Linked DNA regions of Homo sapiens: region 1 is linked to region 2. The links are contacts of gene promoters, found by promoter capture Hi-C in blood cells and fetal thymus (Javierre and others, 2016). All regions are on one chromosome and are shown on one strand. Each heading gives the region's core, a stretch centred on a gene start or on the middle of the fragment in contact. The rest is flanking DNA. Distances are from core to core; before and after follow the strand shown. Region 1 overlaps CELF5 (CUGBP Elav-like family member 5). Region 2 holds the start of ATCAY (ATCAY kinesin light chain interacting caytaxin).

Region 1 (2,700 bases), core at 4-2,503, 650 kb before region 2:
ATGGATGGGTGGGTGGGTGGGTTGGTGGGTCAATGAGTGCATGGATGGATGGATGGGTAGGTGGGTGGATAGATGAGTGGATGGATGGATGGATGGATGCATGAATGAATGAGTGAATGAGTGAATGAATAGATGGATGGATGATGGGTAGATGGAGAAATTAATGGTTGGATGGATGGATGAAAAGATGGATGGGTAATTGGTGGATGGAATACTAGATAGATGGGTGGGTGCATGGATGAATGGATGGATGGATGATGGATAGAAGATGGGATAGACTGAAGGATGGAAGGATGCTTCCTCAACCTTTACTACCTTCCTCCTCACCTGGTGAATACGAATGTTCAGAACCTTTGCTCTCAGACAGGCTTGGTTCCAATCCTGGCTCCATTTTTAAATTTCTGTGTAATCCTGAAAAAGTCACCTCATCTTTTCTGAACCTTAGCTACTTTGTAAAAGAGAAGTAATACAGGTAGCTAGTTCACAGAGCAGTTGTCAAAATTGGAACTAATTTATATGATGTGGCCAGGCGTGGTAGCTCACACCTGTAATCCCATTGCTTTGGGAGGTTGAGGTGGGAGGATCCCTTGAGCCCAGGAGTTCAAGACCAGCCTGAGCAACACAGCTCTACAAAAAATAAAAACCATATCCAGGTGTGGTGGTGTGCAACTGTAGTCCCAGCCACTCAGGAGGCTGAGGAGGGAGGATTGCTTGATCACAGGAGTTAGAGATTACAGTGAACTATGATCGCACCACTGCATCCCAGCCTGCGTGATAGAGTGAGGCCCTTTACAGAGTGAGTCTGTAAAGAAAAAAAAAAATGTGGTGTGATTCATGTAATTAACCTGAATAATGACTTGCATATTGTAGGTGTTCTCCATAAATGGTCAGGCAGTCAAAATAGTCAACAGGCTGGCTGCAGTGCATCACGCCTGTAATCCCAGCACTTTGGGAGGCTGAGGTGGGAGGATTGCTTGAGCCCAGGAGTTCCAGACCAGCCTGGGCAACATAGCAAGACCCCTTCTCTACAAAAAATAAATTTAGGCTGGGCGTGGTGGCTCACGCCTATAATCCCAGCACTTTGGGAGGCCGAGGTGGGTGGATCACCAGAGGTCGGGAGTTCGAGACCAGCCTGACCAACATGGAGAAACCCCATCTCTGCTAAAAATACAAAATTAGCCGGGTGTGGTGGTGCATGTCTGTAATCCCAGCTACTCGGGAGGCTGAGGCAAGAGAATCGCTTGAACCCGGGAGGCAGAGGTTGTGGTGAGCTGAGATCATGCCATTGCACTCCAGCCTGGGCAACAAGAGTGAAACTCCGTCTCAAAAAAAATAAAAATTAAAATTAAAAATAAATAAATAAATAAATAAATAAATAAGTTTTTAAAAAAGCTGCACGTGGTGGCATGTGCCTAGAGCCCTAGCTGCTTGGGAGGCTGAGGTGCGAGGATGGCTTGAGCCTGGGGAGGTGGAGGCTACAGTGAGCCATGATTATGCCACTGCACTCCAATCTGGAAAACAGATCTAAACCCTGTCTCAAAATTCAAAAGGCAACAACTTTATTAAGTCTGTATTGTGTGCCAGCCATTGAGCGAGGCTTGAGGACATAAAGCAATTCAGGGGGTAGGAGAGACTGACGATAAACTAGGAAACAAATAAAGTTGAGATAGGTGTGAGGTGAGCTGCTGTGAACAAACAAACTAAAGATGTGTGTTGGGAGATGACAGCTTTCCTTGGGGGCCAGAGATGGCCTTTCTAGGAGGTGACGTTTGAGACGAGACCTGAATGACAGATGGGAAGGCTGTTATGCTACAACCAAGGGAAAGGCGTTCCAGGAAGAGTGCAGAGGCCCTGAGGCAGGACCACCACATCTGGTGTGTTGGAGGAACAGCAAGGAGGCCCTTGTGGCTGGAGCAGAGTGAGGAGGGGGAGAGAGGGAGGAGAAGAGGGCAGAGAGGGAGTCGCGCAGGTTGTTGAGCGGGTTCTGTGTGTCTTGGAAGGACTTTGGTTTTTACCCCAAGAGAGGTGGAGCCATGGAGACCTGTGGCAGGGGAGGGACAGGGTCTCTCAGGGGAATATGGACAATGTGGATTCTGGGTCCTCCATTTTTTAGATGGGGAAACTAAGGCACAGAAGGCCCTAGAATGTGTCAGGAAGTTCTGCCACTAGGCTTATGCCTGGCTCTTCTGAGGAGCTCCTGAAGACGGCGGCGCCTGGAGGTAGCTGGAAGACAGAGTGGAGCAGGCCCCTCAGTGCCCTCCCATTCTCCCAGCAGCCTTTGAGGGTGGGGTCTTTATATCCAAGAGGATTTGCATTCTTGTCCCTGACCCTCCACTAGGGGGAAGGACCAGAGGGCATGCCTCTAGCAGAGCTAGGAGCCACCAGAAGAACTTTGTACACATAGGGAAATGGAGGCCCAGGTAGAGGAGGGGAGGTCAATTCACCAGCTCTTGGCAAGGGAGGCGAGGAAGAGGAAGGGATCTAGTGATGTGGTTCGTTCTCTCTCTCTCTCTCTCTCCCTCCCTCTTTCAAGAGATTGGCATCTCACTATGTTGCTAAGGCTGGTCTCAAACTCCTGGGCTCAAGCAATCTTCCCGCCTTGGCCTCCCAAAGCATTGAGATCGTAGGTGTGAGCCACCGCGCCCAGCCATGATGTGGTTCTCAATGGGAGTTATTCTAGGACACTTGGCAATGTCTGGA
Region 2 (2,700 bases), core at 70-2,569:
GTGCCTGTAATCCCAGCTACTTGGGAGGCTGAGGGAGGAGAACCACTTGAACCTGGGAGTCGGAGGTTGCAGTGAGCCAAGATCGCACCACTGTACTCCAGCCTGGCAACAGAGCGAGACTCCACCTAAAAAAAAAAAAAAAAGAAAGAAAGAAAGAAAGAAAGAAAGAAAGAAAGAAAGAAAGAAAGAAAGAAAGAAAGAGAAAGAAACACATAGGGAGCTTTTCTTGTGCCCCAGCACTGTGTTTAGTGCTGTCTATGCATTATCTCATAATGTGGAAAAGCCATAGCGGCTCCATTTCACAGATGAGAAAAACTGAGGCCCGCAGGTGAGATCACTCATGCCCACTGGTCTGCCAGCTGGGGAGTGGCTGGGCTAGAGTTCAAACCCACTTCCAGTCCGACTGCACGGCCTGCACTCTCCACCCTACCATCTTCCACAGTCTCCTTGAATTCCTCCAGGGCGAGGCCACGCCAGCGCACAACTGCAGGGGGCGCCGTTCCCACAGCAGCCCTGCAAAGTGAGTGTGCCTGAGAAACTTCCGCCTCCCCTGCACCCAGCCCTGTTTAGGGCACGAGGCTGAATCAATGGTAAGTGACCATCTAATGGACCCACAACACGGTGACCTGGGGACAGTCATTTCTTTCTTTTTTTTTTTTTTTCTTTGAGACAGAGTCTCCCTCTGCCGCCCAGGCTGCAGTGCAGTGGCGCCATCTCGGCTCACTGCAACCTCCGCCTCCCAGGTTCAAGCGATTCTCCTGCCTCAGCCTCCCGAGTAGCTGGGATTACAGGCGCACGCCACCACGCCTGGCTAATTTTTGTATTTTCAGTAGAAACGGGGTTTCACCATGTTGGCCAGGCTGGTATCGAACTCCTGACTTCAGGTGATCCTCCCTCCTCGGCCTCCGAAAGTGCTGGGATTACAGGCGTGAGCCATGGCATCCGACCTGGGGACAGTCATTTCTTTGCCTGCACAGACTTTTTGGGGGATGCCACCCCTCACCCCTGCTCCCTTTGCAAGGAGAAGTGCCAAGAAGACCTTTCCCAACTCCCCCACCCCCCATTCTCTAAGGAATGAGGCCATCTTGCCATTTATTTATTTATTTGTCCGTTGTTTTGTTTTTAAATCTCTGATGCGCCATCAGAAAATTATTTCTGCCTCTGCCCCTGGCGTGGCTTTCGGAGATGCTTGTCTGTCAGCCAATGGGGAGGATCGGATTCTGGCAGGGGGCTGTGCTTTTCCGTCAGGCCGCCACCCCCCACCCCCTCCTCCCTGCACACAAAAGCAGCATAAATTAACCGTCTTCGGGAAGCCGAGCCTCTGCCAGCCCTGAGCTGGGAAGAAGCAGCTACCTCGGAGGCAGGGCGCGCAGGCGGGCGGCGATGAGAGGGGGCGCAGCCGCAGCCCCGCGCTGGGGAGCCCACCGCTAACCCTGCACCCCACCCACCCCTGCACAAAAGAGCTGGCGGGCGCTGGCCACGTCGCCCTGGGTGACCTTCCTCGGATGCAGAATCCGCCCCTGCGAGCATCCTCTTCCTCCTAGGCTCTGAAGGCCCGGGGAGCGTGAGCGATGCCCAGCTGCACCCGGGCAGGGCTCGCCTTTGTTTGCCAGTAAGGAGGAGAGGCTGTCTCAGCTGCAGAGGTGAGTGCGCGCATCTCCCCTTCTCCCAGGATAAACCGTCTCCCTGGAAGGTTTATCCGGCAGCCTTTGCCGCCTCTAAATCCCTTTCCAGCAGATGGGGCGGGTGGGAGCAGAGAGCCACGGTCTTGTGACTCCGTGAAGGCCCTCACATCCCTGTTCCCGGTACCAGGGAAAACCGTTCCCTGAGCTGCGCCCAGCAACACAGTTTACCTTCCGCGCGCACCGTTCCCCTCTAAGTGCACCATTTTCAGGACACGCTGAGAGCTCGGGCGGATGAAAACCTCAGCTTCTCTCTGGGACGCTGAAATAGACCCATCCTAGCCCTATGTATTTCCTATTTATAACGCTAGGAAGGCCACCAGCCGACGATTTCGGGAAAAAAAAAAAAAAAAAATCTAAGTGTGTCGATAAAGGCTGTCCTGTGGGGTGGGGAGGAAGGGGGTGGTTTATGGTTTAAGACACAGATGCCTCCTCCTTATTGGAACTCGTATGTGATTTGTTAATAATCAGACATCAGGGCTCAAATGAGCGCTTCACTCCCGTTCCTTGATGTCACTGTCTTCTTTTGGCCGTCCCCAAATGCGAAGCCAGGATCTGAGTGCAGGAGTGTCCGGGGCCCACTGAGGACCCACCCCACCCCATCCTTAGAAGACTGTGGAGTCAACGCCTGTGGCTGCAGCTGGCAGGGGGTGGGGGTCGGGGGCGGGGCTGGTGGGAGTGTTCCTGGGGGCTGAGGTCACACCCAGCTCAGTATAAGGAAGGGAGAGGCGAAGACCCCTTCCTCCGGAGAGCAAATGCGTTTCTACTGCCGAGGAGAACTTACCCTCGCGGGAAGGGCCTGGCTGGCTGCTGCCACCGCCCCCCCCCCGACCCCATAGCATCCAGGAGGGATTTTTTTTTTTTCCATGCTGCGTGTTACTGTCCCTCCTCCAAGCATGAATGACGACATTGAGGACAGAGAATCGAGTGAGAAACGCTCACCCTGTACGGGGGAGGGTCTAGTTTTAGCCGTCCCCTCCCCCCACTTCCTCATCTGGCTGAGGCTGCCTCTGGGTCC

The links. Contacts are between HindIII fragments. The CHiCAGO score rates a contact against its expected background, and 5 or more counts as called.
Region 1: a fragment that was not itself captured here is called in contact with the fragment with the promoter of ATCAY in region 2 in 1 of 17 cell types (M0 macrophages); the score reaches 5.0 in M0 macrophages.

The regions. Positions count from the first base shown.
Region 1 is chr19:3,231,750-3,234,449 of GRCh38, forward strand. The region is part of intron 1 of CELF5 (CUGBP Elav-like family member 5); the gene reads left to right. Among named protein-coding and RNA genes, the nearest start is that of CELF5, 8.4 kb to the left of the region's middle. The HindIII fragment of the contact is 4,443 bases long and covers 1-2,700 here.
Region 2 is chr19:3,879,366-3,882,065 of GRCh38, forward strand. ATCAY (ATCAY kinesin light chain interacting caytaxin) reads left to right here and starts at 1,320. Exons shown (of 13, transcript NM_033064.5): 1 at 1,320-1,643. RefSeq lists an enhancer at 995-1,525. The HindIII fragment of the contact is 12,603 bases long and covers 1-2,700 here.